2 separate regions of the Homo sapiens genome follow, and region 1 is linked to region 2. Evidence: promoter capture Hi-C in human tissues and cell types (Jung and others, 2019). All regions are on one chromosome and are shown on one strand. Each heading gives the region's core, a stretch centred on a gene start or on the middle of the fragment in contact. The rest is flanking DNA. Distances are from core to core; before and after follow the strand shown.

Region 1 (4,332 bases), core at 1,517-4,016, 62 kb after region 2:
ATAAACGGAAAGTAATTTATAATTAAAAACTATGGTTTGAATACTTTGTTTGAATTATACTCCATATGTAAATGGCACCAGAACCTCTCCAGAAGCCGTGAGGAAGCTGTCAGCCACTGGCTCTACAGGCCTTGTCCCAAGCTTCACCAGAGACCAATGCCAGTGTGTCTTGGTGGTATGACCATCAGGGACATGATTTTCCAAAATGACAAAACTCTTGGCAAAGTTCTGAGCAAAACAAAGGATGTACTTCCTTTATTTATTGGGTTGCCATCTTCCCAGAAAATTCCAAGTACCTATAGCTGTGGGGAAAAAATAATTTGCATTTCTTTGTAAAATCGAGGTAATTCCTAGCTCAGATAATTATATGCATGTTTTTTAACCTCCATTAAGGTCCAGTCGAACAATGTGCAATGTATGGGATTAACGTGATCACTGCCGGATGTCCAGCAACCATGTCCCAACTACCAAACGTCACCATCCCTGGAATCATTATGATGACCAAAAACAGAAACACAAACTTCCAAAATGTCACCTGGTGGTCAGCGCCACCACCTCTGAGAATTGCCTCTGCCCCTCCCCGTGGCCAGGACCTCAACTTTACCTCTAAGAGAATCAAGTGGCATCAGAGGATGCAAAATGCATCCAACCCATAGCATTTTGCACCCTCTGAGTATTAGTTTCCCTCACTTCCCAAAGAAAGATAAAATATACTCACTAAAGCAATTAAAAATATAGCAGCCAAATAACAATGAAGTGTATTTCAGTGGGACTCTCATCTCAGGCTCAAAAAATGTTTTTAGTTGATTAAATCATTAATCCTTAGAAACCCCTTCTGATGTGAAAACTACAGAAGAATAATTTTCTAAGACTGAAAAAAATCTAAAAAATAATGTCAAAGTAGTTACAAGTGAATAATAAATGGTTTAATTAAGTTTTCAACTACATAATCCACTTTGGCATTAGAGTTACACGTCTCTGACATTTAATACTTACATTCTACTATCTACTGACATCCAGAAAAAATAACGTACTTTATTTGAATTATGCTATTAATCTATTTGATTTACTCAGTTTCCCTATTCAGTTTCTCAGAATTTATGCTATGCAATTCCATAAATGAAAAACTCGTAGAGAATCAAAGAATTTTAGATCAGAAAAGAAACTCAGAAATCACCCTATTCAATTCCTTCATTTTATGTATCTTTTGTTTTTTAAAAAAAGTACAAATGTAATTTTAAGAAAAGATTAAAATTTGGGTAAATCAAAGCTGCCAGCCTAGGCATAATAGCATTATGTAAATAGAAAATTAAGACTTTTTTTCAATTCTTCAAGCTTCACCCACTATTACAAAACTCTGCATTAATGCTCACAGCCAGTTCTCACAGTACAAACAGCACATTGAACATTTGCAAAGAAAATCTTTGCAAATCTTTCTCTTTTTTTTTTTTTTTTTTTTTTGAGACAGAGTTTTGCTCTGTCACCCAGGCTGGAGTGCAGTGGCGTGAACTCAGCTCACTGCGACCTCCGCCTCCCAGGTGTAATTCTCGTGCCTCAGCCTCCTGAGTAGCTGGAACTATGGGTGCATGCCACCACATCCGGCTAATTTTTTTTTTTTTTTTTTTTGTATTTTTAGTAGAGATGGGGTTTTGCCATGTTGGCCAGGATGGTCTCAAACTCCTAACCTCGAGTGATCCACCCACCTCAGCCTCCCAAAGTGCTGGGATTACAGGCGTGAGCTATGGCACCCAGCCAGAATCTCTCCTTTTAAATTTAACTTTGTGGCCAGTGAGGTGATTCATGCCTATAATCCGAGAACTTTGGGAGGCCAAGGCAGGAGGATTGCTTGCGGTCAGGAGTTCACAAGACCAGCCTGGGCAACATGGAAAGACTCCATCTCTATTAAAAAAAAAAAAAAAAAAAGTTATCCAGGTATGGTGGTGCACACCTGTAGTCCCAGCCACTCAGGAGGCTGAGGCAGGAGGATCACTTGAGCCCAGGAGGTAGAGGCTGCAGTGGCTTGTGATTGTGCCATTGCACTCCAGCCTAGGCGACAGAGTGAGACCTTGCTTTTAAAACAATTTCTTCTAAATAAATTTAAATTTGTAAACTTTGTATAGCAATGCATATTTTTAAGTAACACAGATTGTCCAAAATTTTACTCATACTTTTACTTTAAAATGCAGTGGTTTGTGCCACCTTTCACTAATGACATTAGCTGTACTGTGCCATCCAGGCAAATATTTCTGATCATCAGTCAGTGAAAGAGAATGAAAACAAAGCATTTAAATGAAATAATAGAAATAACTGAGAGGGAAAAAAAAAGTAACTCTTGAGTTGACCACATTCAAAGGTGAGTCAAGTCCCAAACTGCACCATTAACAAAGAGATCACCATTTATTATTACCTACTCTTAATATAGATAAAAATCAGTCTTCTCTTCTGACCATATCTGGGACTTTGCATTTTTTTTTATTGTTATGACTCATGTCAGGGAAATTCAAAGCAGCAGTCTGAATGTTATTGTTAAGCTTGCAAAGAAATAAATTCTATTATAGCACAAATACTGTGCTAGAAAGATTCATAAATCTTCCAAGTCCATTTAACCTGAGGTCACATTCCAATTGGTGATGTTTTTGACAATGCAAGCTAACACCGGCAATAAACAGAGAGCAGTAAAGTAAATGCTGGTAGTAAATGTTTCTTAATAGCAGGCTGCCAGGATCTGTTTCAATTGTCTTGTGATAAATGTCCTTAGAGTGGGAAAAAATACATAAAGGAACATGGCAGATGTTCTCACAGTAGAAAGGTGCTGCCAGCCACCTCCACACTGACTGCAATACTCCTTCTTAGAACAACGAAAAAGAGCGTTTAGATGTACCCATATCTTCCTTCGCCAGGCAGGCTATGGCAGTGACTGAGGCAGCGTGCTTAACCCAAAGAAAGAAGGTGCAGAGCCTCCCATGGGGTTTTATGAGCCCCAGTGAAAAATACACAGTCAATGACGAGAGAGATCTTCAGCCAAGGTCTTGGCACTGCAAGGAAACGGACACCCACTAGTACTGGGAGGACACCCCAATGCCACACTTACTTACCTTCAGGCATGTAACAGACAATACCGTACTTCAAACACTCCAAGAATTTTAATAAAGTTGAATTTAAGTTCAAAGCCCTTAGGAACTACTTAGCTGGAGTTCTATTTAAAGACTTTGAGAAGAAACCTAGACAAAAGTACACATGAGATTCTATTAGAGAAAGTTTCTACGGAAAAAAGAAAATTTGAGGACACTTTTCAGTAAGTGCTACGGTTCTCTTGGATTAAAAGAAGGCGAAATTGAATATTATTCAGCCATAAAAAGGAATGAAGAATTGATTCATACTACAACATGGATGAACCTTGAAAACATTATGCTAAGTGAAAGGAGCCAGACATGACAGGTTACACATTGTATTTTCATTTTTATATGAAATGCCCAGAATAGGCAAATCCATAGAAACAGAAAGTAGATTCATAGTTGCCAGGAGCGGGGGTTGGAGCGTGGAGGATAAGGAGTGACTTCTTTTTTTATTTTTATTTATTTATTGTTTATTTATTTTATTTTATTTTTGAGACAGAGTCTCGCTCTGTCACCAGGCTGGTGTGCAGTGGCACGATCTTGGCTCAATGCAACCTCTGCCTCCTGGGTTCAAGTGATTCTCCTGCCTCAGCCTCCCAAGTAGCTGAGACAACAGGTGTGCGCCACCATGCCCAGCTAATTTTTATATTTTTAGTAGAGACAGGGTTTCACCACATTGGCCAGGATGGTCTCGATCTCTTGACCTTGTGATCCGCCCACCTCAGCCTCCCAAAGTGCTGGGATTACAGGCGTGAGGGACTGACCCTGGCCTTGAAGAGTGACTTCTGATGGGTGTCAGGTTTCTTTTTTGAGGGAATAAAAATATTGTGGAATTAGACGGTAGTGATGGTTGCACAATTTTGTGAATATACTAAAAACCACTGAATGGTACACTGTAAAAGGTAAATTGTATAGTATGTTAATTCTATTCAATTTTTTAAAAAGAAGATAAGGAAGTCAGGGTAGATATTACAGGAGAGAAATTAGAATTAACAGCAAAACTCCACCATAAGAGGGTTCCAAAGAAACAAATCACAGGAAATATATGGCCACATGATTGCAAGGTTAATGAAAATCTGTATGAACCATCAAAAAAGGAACAAGAATAGATAGCGAAGCTATGACTGTAAATAACTGACCTTTCCCTGAACTGAGAAAGCCCCAGATGATCACAAGACCTTTCTGATCATCAGTCCCAACCCTCAGATAAGAATCC
Region 2 (4,463 bases), core at 1,828-4,327:
GACACGAGAATTGCTTGAACCCAGGAGGTGGAGGTTGCAGTGAGCCGAGATCATGCCACTGCACTGCACTCCAGCCTGGGCGATAGAGTGAGACTCTGTCTCAAAAAAAAAAAAAAAAAGGCAGCAAAGTATTCTAGAGTTCTCTTCCCCTCTCCCACCACCACCCCAGACTATGCTTTAATGTCTCACTTTCCAGAACTGGCTCATTTGGTCATTCTTTTTTTTTTTTTTTTTTTTTTTTTTGAGACGGAGTCTCGCTCTGTCGCCCACCCTGGAGTGCAGTGGCACGATCTCAGCTCACTGCAAGCTCCGCCTCCCAGGCTCACGCCATTCTCCTGCCTCAGCCTCCCAAGTAGCGGGGACTACAGGCGGCCGCCACCACGCCTGGCTAATTTTTTGTATTTTTTAGTAGAGACGGGGTTTCACCGTGTTAGCCAGGATGGTCTCGATCTCCTGACCTCATGATTCGCCCGCTTTGGCCTTCCAAAGTGCTGGGATTACAGGTGTGAGCCACAGCGCCCAGCCTCATTTGGTCATTCTTAACTGTGAGCGAGACTGGGGAAGTTTGTATCTGGCTTTTCATCCCCCCTGGTGAGCTGTATCCAGCAGGGACTCAGGCTGGCTTTGTGGGTGTCACAGGGCTCTAGCTGCACTTCTAGTGAATTTAATCTCCAGGATTTGAGTTGACTGTGTGATACTTTCCCAAGCAACTAGGATTGTTCCCCAAACCTGTGATTCTCATTTCTGCCCACACGAGGGCTTTGGAAAAGCCCCAAGAGGCTCAGGCCCAACCCAGTGGCTTTTATTTAATTTTCTGGGATGGAGCCCCATCCTTGTATTTTTCAAATGCTGTCCATTTAATTCTAATGAAAAGTTGGGGTTCTGAATTTTAAAAAAAATGTTGTGATGGTTAACACTGAGTGTCAACTTGATTGGATTGAAGGATACAAAGTATTGATCCTGGGTGTATCTGTGAGGGTGTTGTCAAAGGAGATTAACATTTGAGTCAGTGAGGTGGGGAAGGTAGACCCGCCCTCAATCTGGGTGGGCACCATCTAATCAGCTGCCGGCTCAGCTAGAATATAAGTGGGCAGAAAAATGTGAAAAGAGAGACTGGCTTAGCCTCCCAGCCCACATCTTTTCTCACGTGCTGGATGCTTCCTATCCTCAAACATTGGACTCCCAAGTTCTTCAGTTTTGGAACTTGGACTGGCTCTCCTTGCTTCTCAGCCTGCAGATGGCCTATTGTGGGACCTTGTGATCATGTGAGTTAATACTTAATAAACTCTTCTTTATATATATATTTAATATTTACATATTATATATTAAATATATATTATATATTATATATAATATATATTTATATTATATATAAATATATTTAATATTTATATTTAATAAACTCATATATATATATTCCATTAGTTCTGTCCCTCTAGAGAACCCTAATACAAATGTTTTTTCTTCTTTGCTTTCCATTCAATCTTGAAAATAATGACAGTTCAGAGTAAGATAAAATAGTTACCTGTTCCAGCCCTACAAATTTAAAGTGATTTGACCTAATCCTAAAATAATGTTCTTCTTCTGTCCCAGCCTTAGGAAATTAACAGTATCAGCTATGAATATACGAATGTACTGACCAAGCATCTTCAGTGTGATGTCTAGTCCGTTTGATAATTATGGTTTATTATGAATTACTATATTTGTATGCATGTTCTATTTCTCAGTCTTTTAATAATATTACTAGCAGCATTTATCAAGTGCCTTCTGAGTTTGTTTAGATTGAGAGCCTCTCTGAGGTCCTGTCTTCTCTCTGAGGGACGGGAGTTGCTCAGGACCTGCAGCGCTGGGGTCCAGACCCTGGCAGTTGCCAATGTGCTGCCACACCCATGGCCCGGCTGGGCAGCCTCGAAGCTGCCTCAGGCAGCTCCTGCCACATCCACAAACCCAAGCGGGAGCACAGCCCGGGACAGGAAACACAGGGCACGTCCAGATGCTGCTGCTTCACAGACACCAAGGGCGTGGTTTGTGGAAAAGGCCTAGTTTTAGGAAGGTCTTTTCCCTCTGATCATCCAGGAACTCCAGATTAAATGTAACAGAAAACCTTTATACAACAATTGTCAGTTCTTGTTCCATTTGTGCTTTCTTGAGGATTACACGTGCATCTCCCTGAAATTGTTTAATCTCTTGGGACCAAGAGACACTGACTCATCTTGTTGTTGTTATTACTAATAGGTGTAATTTACATACATACATATGTACATTTACATAATTTACACAGTAAAAAAACTCTTCATCCCCCTCACCACATTTCTTAGTCTTATTTCTCTTGTGATCTGAGTTTGCTGTCATTCTCTTGGCCTCAGTTCTTCCTACCACATCTGCTCTGAGAGGAAACACTATGTGACTGTTTAAAATCTGTTCTTTTTTTATGATCCCAAGAAGAAAGAGAAAAAAACAAAGATCTGTAGGAAGAAAAAAGGGTGAGGACAGAACTTCTGCAGAAATAAATATTGTTACAATAACACAAATTGTAAACTTTAGGATAGGTACTGACCGTGTAGTTGATCTTTATTGAACCAGTTGGTTTGAAATACTTAGAATGCTGTCAGCTTTAAGGTTTTACAGTGGAAATTCTTTCCTTAAATTGGCTTTTGGACATGGATCACAGGTAGAGTGAACCAATTCCAGAAAATGTGATCTACATTCACATTTGTCAGTATTTTCTTTTTCTATGACATGCATAATTATCATATCACAGGCATCAGTGACTTGCTGCCTCTACCTGGGATTCTCCTTACCTGGGAAAGTTGTAACCTCGAGGCCCGTGATGTCCTAAAGTGGACTGTCATTAGCTTGGTGGAGGTACTTGAAGAGCAAGCAGACACTGGAGGGTGGGGAAACCAAGCATCCGGAGGCACTCATCTTGCTCCGTTGTTTTACCCGACAGTGAAGTGGCTCTCCCAAGCCCCTGTCCTCCTGCGTTCCATTTTGTGGTGCCTATAGCCTGCAAGATGCCATATGCTTCCTGTTCCCAACCACCCAGGTCTGCCCGTGATCATCCCACTTCGAACTTTGAATCCTTCTTATATGTTGTTCTTTAAAGTCTTACTGATTATTCCCTGTGGTCTTTTTTTTTTTTTTCACTAGCCCTTCTGTTGTCTTAAGTTATGGCTGTGTCTTGGCTATTTACATAGTAACTTCCTCATCATTTTTTCATCTCCACTATCTTGTCCTCTAATGGTCTTGAACACCGTGAGAGTGTTGAATGAAGACCCTTTTGTAGACAGTGGCCAGCATTGTTTCTGTGTCTGTGCATGTGGTCGTGACTTAGCTTTTGGGCATATGATAATCATCAGGAACTGAGTTGTACGTCTCTTCAGTGTCCTCTGTATATCATGTTGATTACAGTTCTCAGTTGTAATATCTAATATCTAAGATTTAAGATTTAATATCTCCTTAGCCCGGGTCCCTTGTGAGTTCCAAGTGCTGCTCTGAGCTGATAACCAGTCACGTCCTAGACACCCTGGCCTGGAAACTAGGACATCTGCCTCGGGCCTGTTATGGCCAAGGCTGCTAACACTGAGAAACAGTCTTAGCTTGTTACAGCGTTGACGTATAGGGTTAGAAAGGCAAATATTTAAATTCATTTTAAATCCTTTCATTTGAAATTTTAGTAGGTCATTTTGGTATACTGATGGACTGAGTTTGGAAAAGGCTGGCGGCATTAAACTAGAATATTTTAAGTACTTCTGATGCCTTTGTACTGATTTCTTTTTTGTAATCAAACCCATTAATAGACTTAAAACTCAAGGAAGAAAAAATAATACTTGTAATTTTAAATAAGCATTCAATTATAAGTAAAAAACATTTTTGTATTCGTTACCATAGTTACCAAGCAGCTTTCCTATAGTTCTAGAAAAAAATGGGCTCCATCATTCAGAGTAATTCTGAAAGGTGCCTTTGGGGGAAAGGGAGAGGAAGGGGTGGTACAGGAGAGGTCCTGGCCGTCCCAGAAGCAGGAGACATAACTGGAAGAGCTTTGTTGACGCTGAGTTTTACAGAATCTCCCACTAAATAGTAACTGCATTTGTGAGGGGAATTCTCTTTTAGCCGTGACATAATATAAGCCAACTTAACAGAGTATTGGAATTGTATTCAAACTTTAGAAGTCGACGCTATAGTTTACATGGGGTACTACTATATTTGTTCAGGGTTTTAAAACTTTATTTAAATCAAGCAAAAGTTAGACACTTCCTGTATTTGCAAATACCAACTATATCTCAAAGGAATGAAATCAGGCAAATAAAGATGAGGCCAAAATTTAAAATCTAAGGAAGCTGAAAGTGGCAGTTTCTGTACTGGAAGAGAGTGCATCTATCTCTGTATTTGTGCTTTTGGTCTTAATAGTTTGTAAGCCTTATGTAGAGTTTTGATAATATTTCATGGTTTTAGGCCTAGGC

What was found. Contacts are between HindIII fragments. The study calls those that stand out against the background at their distance.
Region 1: a contact is called between a fragment that was not itself captured here and the fragment with the promoter of CLDN20 in region 2, in 1 of the 25 tissues and cell types used here (dorsolateral prefrontal cortex).

The regions. Positions count from the first base shown.
Region 1 is chr6:155,200,178-155,204,509 of GRCh38, reverse strand. All of the region lies in intron 14 of TIAM2 (TIAM Rac1 associated GEF 2), which reads right to left. Among named protein-coding and RNA genes, the nearest start is that of CLDN20, 62 kb to the left of the region's middle. The HindIII fragment of the contact is 4,056 bases long and covers 739-4,332 here.
Region 2 is chr6:155,262,627-155,267,089 of GRCh38, reverse strand. It overlaps CLDN20 (claudin 20), which reads right to left and starts at 3,077. Exons shown (of 2, transcript NM_001001346.3): 1 at 2,802-3,077. All of the region lies in intron 5 of TFB1M (transcription factor B1, mitochondrial), which reads left to right. The HindIII fragment of the contact is 11,103 bases long and covers 1-4,463 here.